Linked DNA regions of Homo sapiens: all the other regions are linked to region 4. Evidence: promoter capture Hi-C in 16 types of primary human blood cells and fetal thymus (Javierre and others, 2016). All regions are on one chromosome and are shown on one strand. The core of a region is centred on a gene start or on the middle of the fragment in contact, and the rest is flanking DNA. Distances in the headings are between cores, read along the strand shown. Region 1 overlaps PLP1 (proteolipid protein 1). Region 2 has its middle 17 kb from the start of RAB9B. Region 3 has its middle 20 kb from the start of MORF4L2. Region 4 holds the start of SLC25A53 (solute carrier family 25 member 53).

Evidence for each region. The method cuts DNA at HindIII sites, captures the fragments that hold promoters and counts their contacts. A CHiCAGO score of 5 or more calls a contact.
Region 1: a fragment that was not itself captured here is called in contact with the fragment with the promoter of SLC25A53 in region 4 in 2 of 17 cell types (naive B cells and monocytes); the score reaches 5.5 in naive B cells.
Region 2: a fragment that was not itself captured here is called in contact with the fragment with the promoter of SLC25A53 in region 4 in 2 of 17 cell types (total B cells and naive CD8 T cells); the score reaches 6.7 in total B cells.
Region 3: a fragment that was not itself captured here is called in contact with the fragment with the promoter of SLC25A53 in region 4 in 1 of 17 cell types (neutrophils); the score reaches 5.7 in neutrophils.

The regions. Positions count from the first base shown.
Region 1 is chrX:103,787,707-103,790,362 of GRCh38, forward strand. PLP1 (proteolipid protein 1) reads left to right here. Exons shown (of 7, transcript NM_000533.5): 4 at 92-260; 5 at 731-804; 6 at 1,627-1,692. It also overlaps a transcript of RAB9B not described here. Among named protein-coding and RNA genes, the nearest start is that of PLP1, 12 kb to the left of the region's middle. The HindIII fragment of the contact is 1,108 bases long and covers 697-1,804 here.
Region 2 is chrX:103,814,201-103,816,900 of GRCh38, forward strand. It overlaps a transcript of RAB9B not described here. Among named protein-coding and RNA genes, the nearest start is that of RAB9B, 17 kb to the right of the region's middle. The HindIII fragment of the contact is 4,661 bases long and covers 1-2,700 here.
Region 3 is chrX:103,665,385-103,668,084 of GRCh38, forward strand. No RefSeq gene overlaps it. Among named protein-coding and RNA genes, the nearest start is that of MORF4L2, 20 kb to the right of the region's middle. The HindIII fragment of the contact is 2,959 bases long and covers 1-2,700 here.
Region 4 is chrX:104,155,586-104,158,285 of GRCh38, forward strand. It overlaps SLC25A53 (solute carrier family 25 member 53), which reads right to left and starts at 1,424. Exons shown (of 2, transcript NM_001012755.5): 1 at 1,293-1,424. It also overlaps a transcript of FAM199X not described here. RefSeq lists an enhancer at 1,198-1,497. The HindIII fragment of the contact is 6,927 bases long and covers 1-1,634 here.

The DNA of each region.
Region 1 (2,656 bases), core at 1-2,500, 370 kb before region 4:
CTGGCACACGCCACTCCAGGATCTCCCAGTTTGTGTTTCTACATCTGCAGGCTGATGCTGATTTCTAACCACCCCATGTCAATCATTTTAGTTTGTGGGCATCACCTATGCCCTGACCGTTGTGTGGCTCCTGGTGTTTGCCTGCTCTGCTGTGCCTGTGTACATTTACTTCAACACCTGGACCACCTGCCAGTCTATTGCCTTCCCCAGCAAGACCTCTGCCAGTATAGGCAGTCTCTGTGCTGATGCCAGAATGTATGGTGAGTTAGGGTACGGGTGCTTTGGCTCTCCTACCCACTATGGAAGCACTATATATTTGGTTATTTTCTTAGTGTAAGGAGGGTGGTGATTATGAGAAAAATATAAGATGATGAATGATTGGGTCTTAGTTTATTAATCCTTCCCTACTGAAACCAGAGAGGTTTCTTCCCCGGGAAGGGAACTTGGAAGTGGTGGGAGTTTTCTTGGCCATTCACATTGGCCTACTCTAGTTGACTGCTGTTCACAACCCCAAAGCAGCACATTTCAATAACAAACACAAGGTTTCACCACTGTTCAATACCACCTTCTCTTTTTTGTAAACCTGTAGAAAAGAGGATCCTGATTGTTGGTAGAATCCAACTTTACAGCCAGGATAATTAGAGATGGAAGAAGGGCTCTGGGGGAAAGTCTCCATGTGGCCCCGTAACTCCATAAAGCTTACCCTGCTTGCTTTTTGTGTCTTACTTAGGTGTTCTCCCATGGAATGCTTTCCCTGGCAAGGTTTGTGGCTCCAACCTTCTGTCCATCTGCAAAACAGCTGAGGTGAGTGGGTTATTTGGGTTATTTTACAAGGGAGTAGCTAATACCATACAAATTACACCCATGGCCTTCAATTTTAAGGACTGAAAGTTTCCCTTTGCTGGATTTTGAATTAGCCGATTGCCTTCTACAACATGTTGGCTAAGTGTGCCTGAGCCAATGAGCATAGAAGGTAAAACACCTGTTTTCTCTAGAGTTGCATAGAAAGACTTCCTTTCCAACCCTTCCCCTCTTAAAAGAGAAGTTTGTAGCTTTAGGTAAAGATAGAGCCTAATGGCAAAATCCCCCACATGAAAATTTTCATTCCTTTAGTTAAAAACCATATCAAGAAAATGGGCTGTGCACAGAGGCATTCATAGGTTTTATGAAAACATTTTCAATTTGGAACTTCTTTATCTCAAATGAGAGGTAAAATAAGTACATTTGAAAGGGAAAGCACTGTATTGAGAACAGATATTATATACAAATGAGGCAGGGGAATAAAAGTAAATCCGGGGGAGACAGGCAGTAAATTATTTCTTTGACAGCAAAATGTTGACTTTAAATTTTGGGCCCCTGGGCACAACTGTAGGGAACCAGTTAATTATTTTGGAGTACTGTACTATTTCATGACTATTCTGTGATCTGGGTGTTAATGGGCCAGGTGCTATGGTGTACACTGAAGACTGGGAGGCCCACATTTAGGGAAGTGAAAACTTAGTTAGAGATGTGGAATTAGCACACAAGAAAGATATCAACACATTCAGAAAGCTGTATTCATGATTTACAGTGGAGCATATTACTGCTGTTGCAAGAAACAGTTCTTCCTCTTTCATTTTCCTGCAGTTCCAAATGACCTTCCACCTGTTTATTGCTGCATTTGTGGGGGCTGCAGCTACACTGGTTTCCCTGGTGAGTTGACTTTGAATGATCTTGGCAAGTAAATAGGCCTGAGATAGTGTGGGTACAGCTATTCTGAAAGGCAAGAAGGTAGACTGCTTCCATCCTTGAAATGCTGGAGGGAAGCTTCTGGGAAGATAGCAAAGGGTGGAGGCTCCGTACTTCTACTTGCATTGGCAAGGCAGAAAGACATCACAAATTAGATGGGAACAAGAAAAGTGGTATGAGGAAAGAGGTAAGAGATTCATAGACACGAATGATAATATTTAGTATTTATAGAACATGTAATGTTGCCAAGTACTTTGCAGTCATAAATTACGGTTAATTCTCAATACATTTTGATCAGATCAGTGACAAAACACTGAAACATCACGAAACATGACTTGCTATAGCCTGGAATTCTATATACTATCAATATGAATCCACTTTGGATACTCTCCAGTGGATTTAGTTACTCATATGGAAATACTGGGAGGACCTCCTAACATTATTAGAATTGTTATGATTATAATACAATGCTATGTCCCAGGTCTTGCTGATAGTGCTACAGTGCCCTGTGAATGTAGTGTGCTCATTGTGCAGATTAAAAACCTAAGGCACTGAAGGGTGAAGTGATTTATCTGAAGTTATTTTATAAGCAGTGATCAGACAAGATGAGCTCACAGAACTCCTGGCCCCTACTGCTGAGGTTTCCATACAGAGTCAAGTAATTTCTCACCTTGTAAAACGAATTGATTCATTAACCAGGGGAGAGCTCTACTGCATGATGTGGCTGTGTGTCTACAGCAAGCACCCTATGACTCTAAGTCACTCGGACATATTGATGTGGCAAAGCCCAAATATTGTTCACTTCCCTGAGGAAAACTCAGTGCTAGATCAAACAGAGGTGTGGAATAAATCTTTATGATTTGATTCTCTGGGCCTGGGCCATGAGACCCATGATGCCTCAGAGACATCGGACTTCCAGTCAAGTGTA
Region 2 (2,700 bases), core at 78-2,577, 340 kb before region 4:
AGCAAATGTAAAAGAACAGAAATTACAACAAACTGTCTCTCAGACCACAGTGCAATCAAATTAGAACTCAGGATTAAGAATCTCACTCAAAACCGCACAACTACATGGAAACTGAACAACCTGCTCCTGAATGACTACTGGGTAAATAACGAAATGAAAGCAGAGATAAAGATGTTCTTTGAAACCAATGAGAACAAAGGCACAACATACCAGAATCTCCTGGACACATTTAAAGCAGGGTTTAGAGGGAAATTTATAGCACTAAATGTCCACAAGAGAAAGCAGGAGAGATCTAAAATCGACACCCTAACATCACAATTTAAAGAACTAGAAAAGGAAGAGCAAACAAATTCAAAAGCTAGCAGAAGACAAGAAGTAACTAAGATCAGATCAGAACTGAAGGAGATAGAGACACAAAAAACCCTTAAAAAAATCAATGAATCCAGGAGGTGTTTTTTTGAAAAGACCAACAAAATAGGTAGACTGCTAGCAAGATTAATAAAGAAGAAAAGAGAGAAGAATCAAATACACGCAATAAAAAATGATAAATGGGATATCACCCCTGATCCCACAGAAATACAAACTACCATCAGAGAATACTATAACACCTCTATGCAAATTAACTAGAAAATCTAGAAGAAATGGATAAATTCCTGGACACATACACCCTCCCAAGACAAACCACAAAGAAGTTGAATCTCTGAATAGACCAATAACAGGTTCTGAAATTGAGACAATAATTAATAGCCTACCAACCAAAAAAAAGTCCAGGACTAGATGGATTCACAGCCGAATTCTACCAGAGGTACAAAGGGGAGATGGCACCATTCCTTCTGAAACTATTACAAACAATAGAAAAAGAGGGAATCCTCCCTAACTCATTTTATGAGACCAGCATCATCCTGATACCAAAGCCTGGCAGAGACAGACACAACAAAAAAAGAGAATTTTAGGCCAGTATCCCTGATGAACATCGATGTGAAAATCCTCAACAAAATACTGGCAAACCGAGTCCAGCAGCACATCAAAAACCTTATCCTCTGCAATCAAGTTGGCTTCATCCCTGGGATGCAAGGCTGGTTCAACATACACATATCAATAAAGGTAATCCATCACATAAACAGAACCAATGATAAAAACCACATGATTATATCCATAGATGCAGAAAAGTCCTTTGACAAAATTCAACAGCATTTCATGCTAAAAACTCTCAATATCGATGGAACGTATCCCAAAATAATAAGAGCTATTTATGACAAACCCACAGCCAATATCATACTGAATGGGCAAAAACAGGAAGCATTCCCTTGGAAAACTGGCACAAGACAAGGATGCCCTCTCTCACCACTCCTATTCAACATAGTATTAGAAGTTCTGGCCAGGGCAATCAGGCAAGAAAAAGCAATACAGGGTATTCAAATAGGAAGAGAGGAAGTCAAATTGTCTCTGTTTGCAGATGCCATGATTGTATATTTAGAAAACACCATTGTCTCAGCCCAAAATCTTCTCAAGCTGATGAGCAACTTCAGCAAAGTCTAAGGATACAAAATCAATGTGCAAAAATCACAAGCATTCCTATACACCAATAACAGACAAACAGAGAGCCAAACTATGAGTGAACTCCCATTCACCATTGCTACAAAGAGAATAAAGTGCCTAGGAATACAACTTACACAGGATGTGAAGGACCCCTTCAAGAACTACAAACCACTGCTCAAGGAAATAAGAGAGGACACAAACAAATGGAAAAACATTCCACGCACATGGATATGAAGAATCAATATCATGAAAATGGTCTTACCGCCCAAAGTAATTTATAGATTCGATGCTATCCCCATCAAGCTATCAATGACTTTCTTCACAGAGTTGGAAAAAACTACTTTATACTTCATATGGAACCAAAAAAGAGCTCGCATAGCCAAGACAATCCTGGGCAAGACGAACAAAGCTGCAGGCATCAAGCTACCTGACTTCAAACTTTACTACAAGACTACAGTAACCAAAACAGCATGGTACCGGTACCAAAACAGATATATAGACCAATGGAACAGAACAGAGGTCTCAGAAATAACACCACACATCTACCACCATCTGATCTTTGGCAAACCTGACAAAAATAAGAAATGGGGAAAGGATTCCCTATTTAATAAATGGTGCTGGGAAAACTGGCTAGCCATATGTGGAAAGCTGAAACTAGACCCCTTCCTTACACCTTATACAAAAATTAATTCAAGATGGATTAAAGTCTTAAACGTAAGACCTAGGACCATAAACATCCTAGAAAAAAACCTGAGCAATACCATTCAGGACATAGGCATGGGCAAAGACTTCAAGTCTAAAACACCAAAAGCAATGGCAACAAAAGCCAAAATTGACAAATGGGATCTAATTAAACTAAAGAGCTTCTGCACAGAAAAATAAACTATTATCAGAGTGAACAGGCAACCTACAGAATGGGAGAAAATTTTTGCAATCTATCCATCTGACAAAGGGCTAATATCCAGAATCTATACAGAATTTAAACAAATTTACAAGAAAAAATCAAACAACCCCATCAAAAAGTGGGTGAAGGATATGAACAGACACTTCTCAAAAGAAGACATTTATTCAGCCAACATACATATAAAAATGCTCATCATCACTGGTCATTAGAGAAATGCAAATCAAAACCACAATGAGATACCTTCTCAAGCCAGTTAG
Region 3 (2,700 bases), core at 164-2,663, 490 kb before region 4:
GGGAGCTCTTCATGTCTCCAGACCATTCTTCAAGGCCAGTGGCAGTGTGATGGGTGTTAGTCAAACTGGAATTCTGTCTGGAGTGAGATCAGGTTCCAGGCTCACTGGAATTAGTTTTATAAGAGAGGATAAATCCATCCCCCTAACGCTAAGAGTGGTGGTGCTTAGGCAGGAGGTGGAAGGGCTCACTCAGGCCACATTCCCCTCTGGGGTGGGTCTGACTTTTGTTTCTCTGCCTGCAGCAGGCACAGGGCCCTTTTAGGCTAATGGCCAAGCTGCCCTGCACAGACACACCTGGAGGAGGAGAACCGACTGCCCTATTGCAGGTCAGAACACTTTGCCTTTCCCTCCTTTCCCCTCTCTCTTTTGGGGAACATTTTGTAGGGGAGGAGATAAAGCCCCAAAGTGTCCTGGCAGGAAACATTCATTGGGATAGTCTTTGAGCAAGCAGATGTCTGAACAGATCTGACCAGGTAACTTGAGGTTGAAGCAGAAGGGGCTGACCCTTCTCTCAGAGTCCAGTTAGCCCCCAAGAAGACTGGGGCACACAAAACCTCACCCATCCGTCTCCCACCCACCTTGCTCAGACTCCCAGAAGGGCTTTGATGTGCCCTGGCCTGTTTGGTTGGTTCTGCAAGGACTTTAGCTCTGTGTCTGCCTGGTGCAGTGCATCTGATGCCTCAGTCATCCCAAACCCAGAAATACAGAAGACCCCAGATAAAGGGAACTTGCAAAGACATGTGGTCCTACAACTCAGGAGAAAGGGGGTGTCACTTTCTATCTGAAAATCCCCATGCACTGCAGGCCCAGCTCATGACTTGGGAGCCAGGACAGTCAAGCTGTGAATTGGTATGAAGATGCTTTTTAAGGCATTGGTGGTGGAGGGTCAGCAGCATCCAGAGCCTGCTTCTGTGGGCCCCTCACCACCTGCCTACCCACACAGAAGGCTGGTATGTCAATCGCATATCCAAGCAGTGACTTATCTGGCCAATTCCAGAGCAGAAAGCACGGAACAGCCAGAACCTTGGAGAGAGAGCTCTGTGCTAACCAGGATCCCCCTGCTCTTAGGAGACAGTGCAAAAGAGTGTGAGCCCCTCTGGTGGGGCAGCATAGAAGGGATCAGGCTCAGGGTCTTTGCAAAATTTTCAGGGTTGAGTCAGCAGAAGGTAAGTGGACAGCAAGGAAGCAGTCACTGAGTCAGTCTACCCTTACATTCATGATTCGTGCTAAGGACACACTTTTCCCAGACTGCTCCCACACCATGACTTAGCACAGCTGAGCCACTAGAGCCATGCCATTTCTGCTCAATGGGAGACTTTTAATCTTTGCTTGTACTCCCCATTGGCCTGGTCCATAGCTTCTCAAATGAACTGAAGTCTGGGACTCTTTCTACCTAATTCTTCTTCCTTCCCTCTGCTTTCACAGATGTGACATGTGGATCACAGTCTAAAGGCTCTCCCCATCTTCTCTTGCTCTTTCTCCCTTTATCTATTGTGTTTCCCCAGTAAATCTATTTATGTCTAATCTTGTTTTGACATCAGCTTTTAGGTAGGCCTGTTATACAATCATGGTGCTTTCACAAATGAGATCTCATGTTTCACATTTCTCAAAACCTGCTCCTTTTCAGAGAGCCAGGATAGTACAGTAGCTAACAGCTGTCAAGAGTAGTCACTAACTGGGTTCAAATCCCAGATCTGCCACTCTTAGCTGTGTGTCCTTGGCCTCTGTGCCTCTTGTAAAATGGGGATAATTCCATTACTTCCTCTTAGGGTTGTTGTGAGGTTTACATAAATTATTACATAGTCCATTTAATGTCAACACATAGTAAGTAATAAATATCAGCTGTTTTTTGTTGTTGTTGTTGTTGTTGTTGTTGTGGGTTTTTTTTCCATCTCTGATAGGTGAAGTCAGAGAAGGGGGAAAGATCTCACCAGGCCCAGTAGCTATTAAAGGGTTTGGCACTGGAACTCTCATTCTAAAGTTCTGGAGCTCTAAGTACATATGCTTTATTGATTTTTAACCTATAAGCTAAAATTAAGTTTCAGGAAAACACATGAAACAGTTAAATAGCTTGATTATTGTTGCCCCCTACTTTCAACTTCACTGGATGTGTAACTCCCAAAATGAAAATGGTATGATGATATTGTTCCTTTTCCTGTAGGATCCATCAGACAGCTCATTCTGGAATACAGAAATGGCACTGAAGATCATACCTGCGTTTTCCCCTTCTTGTTATTACCTTTGCAAATGTTCTTTATAAAGTAAAGAATGTCAAAGGCATAACTTTCAAGGAAGGGAGGAAGCAGAATAGGAAGGGAACTAATATTTGTTTGAGTGTCCACTATGGGCCAGATGAAGTGTTTCATGTTTTAAGTTGGTTCTCTCTTTAATTCTCATAATTCTGTAGGCAGGCAGAATTGTTTTCTACCAAGGTAGGCAGCCGTATCTTCCCTAAACAAAGAAGTAAATGGAACTCAGAGGTTGAGTATATATTCCAAGGCCCTAAATCTAGTAAGTTTGAGAGCTTGGATTCAAACCCAGGTCTGTCACACTCCAAAACCCACACTCTCCCCCACTCTACCTTAAAAAAAAATTCTAATGTTATACTGTGATCTTCCAGGACTCAGGGACTAGTTGGTTTAAATTTCCATGACAGAATGTTAAATTAAAAGTTTCCTCTTAGGCATTAACATATAACAG
Region 4 (2,700 bases), core at 174-2,673:
GCACAATTCCCTGCTGTGAACCGAGTTTGCTGGAAAACCAAGTAACTAGCACCTCCATCGTAGTCCTACCCAGAGCTTGCAGGCTTTGCACTCACGTAAGACTGATTCTTCCAGAGGCGCCTGGAAGTCCCATTGTGATGGGCAAATGCTCTTACCAGAAATAAACTAGTTGTGGGGACCGGGCGCGGTGGCTCATGCCTGTAATACCAGCACTTTGGGAGGCCGAGGCAGGCGGATCACTTGAGGTCAGGAGTTCGAGGCCAACCTGGCCAACATGGTAAAACCCCGTCTCTACTAAAAATATAAAAATATAAAAATTAGCCGGGAGTGGTGGTGGGTGCCTCTAATCCCAGCAACCCGGGAGGCTGAGGCAGGAGAATCACTTGAACCCGGCAGACGGAGGTTGCAGTGAGCGGAGATCACGCCACTGCATTCCAGCCTGGGCGACAGAAGTAGAGAGACTCCTTATCAAAAAAAAAAAAAAGAAAGAAAGAAAGAAAAAAAAAAAGAAATACACTAATTTTGGGCCTTAAATGCTACTCAGTTCTCCAGTTCACCTCAACAGGGAGGGAAGGTGCTTGGAGGAAAATTGCACTTCGTTTTTGCCCTGCTTATTTTGTCTTCAAAATATATGTTAAATCACCGCATCAAAGAGCCGTCCCAGATCTCAACTCCCAGATGAGTTCGGTGGCACCCAATAGATTTTCATAACACAGGATCTATCTCTGTCTCCTTGTATTGTAATAGCCTGTCTCCAAATGCAGATAGCAACCGGCAGGCTGTAAATGTCGAGGAAAAAGCCTAATTCCTTTCCTCATCCGGAGCCTCTAGTGCAGTACCCAGCACAGAGCAGGTACTTGGTATTTTGGTAAGGGAAATCAATCAACGCATCAATAGCAGAATCTGAAACCAGGGACCTAGATCTTTCCAATAAAATCATCCTGCTGAGATGTGACTCAGATGTACTGGTGCCCAGCAGACAACACGTTTTCGCCCTGATTTTATCCTCCATTCATCCGTCCGCCCCCTCCCCCATAGACCCCGCCTGTCCCCAGCTAAAAATAATGAGGGGATTCACACATCTCAGTGTCAACACACACAACACAGTTGACACGCCCCTTAATCCTACAGCTACGCCATCAATTCTCGCCGCCGGGTCCGTCCGCTTGTCAGTTTCCCCTACTCCTCATCCCCTCGCAACTTCTGATCCCCTATCACTTCCGTTCCCGTTTGCCTGCTAGGCTGGAAGCAGGATGTGTCTACGCCCTCAGCCCATAAGAAGTGCTACAAACCTCCGCCTCGCTCGCTGTCATGGCGGCGACCGACGGCCCCTTTCCTGTGGCCTCAGAAAGCAGCGACAGTCGCAGTCACCGGACCTTCGCCCATCCGCCGCCCTCACTTAAGCGACGCACAACGGAGCTCCCACAATCCTCTTTGCTTCCGCTCTCTTTATTTCCGCCTCCCCCGCCCCCGCCTCGACATTAACCGTTTCGCGACTACGTCAGTTGGCCGGTCTGTTTGGGAGAGCCAGGCGACTAATCTGGTATAGAGACCGAAAAACACAGGTAAAAAGACCTAAAAGACTTAGTCATCTATTGGAACATTTCCCCAGTTTGTTTGTAAGTTGGCTTGCAAGCTTATCAGTCATTCTCAAACAGGAGCTTAACTTACTTAGGTGAACAGTTCATGATGACGCCTTTAAGCTGCTAGACCAACCCAAACTCCGAATTTGCAGTTTCTGACCTTTCACCTTGAACCTGTGCCCTTTCTACCCTCTATTCTCCATCTCCTTTTGGTTCTTGTCTGACTCTTTAGCTGCATATGTAAAGAGCACAGACTTTGAAACCTGAGCTCCCGCGTTCGAATCCCCACTGTACCACTATCTAAACATGGCATCTTGGGCAAGTGATTCAAGCATGCTATTCCTTGGCTTTTTCATCTGTAGAATTGGTATAATAATAGTACTTACCTCCAGAGTTGCAGTAAAAATATTAAAATTTCACATGTGAGGAGCACCTAGAACATTGCCTATCATGAAGTTAAGCAGTATATTGAAATATAAATTATAATGATTGAATTTGATCTCACCTAAGACCTCTGGCTAATAAATAATAAATGATAATAATCATTTCACCTGGGATAGAGGGGATTGCCCTGTTCTCTCCAGGCTGAGGCTGTAATACCTGATTCTAGGGACTGCTGATATGGAAATTACTACCACTCTGGCTGGAGTCAGAAGAGTATATTAAAGAGTCTCTTTGTACTGTCCTAAAATAAGCAAAATCCAACGTTTGCAGTTCTATGGACCACGCACTATGATAAGTGCTTTAAACCCATTTTGTTGTTATTGCTTCATCCTCACAATAGCCCTTTGCTGGTTCTTAAGTGTATTACCCTTTCCTGTCCTCTTTGTCTGCTTAAAGCAGCTAAGAAAACTCAGATTAGTCAGATTGCATATAAATCAATAACTTGCCCACGGTCACAGAGCTAATAACAAATAGAGCCAAGACTTAAACTCAGATACATTCAGATGTGTCTTGGTATTTCTCAAATATCACTGAGAAAAAGGCCACCATAAATTCTTTTCAAGTGCTCTCTCTCCCCCAACTCCCCACCCCAAGAATTGCCTGAATGCCCATACAGAAAGACTAGGTTCTCTTCAGAAGCAGAAGGGCAGAACCCACTAAGGCAAAGATCTCT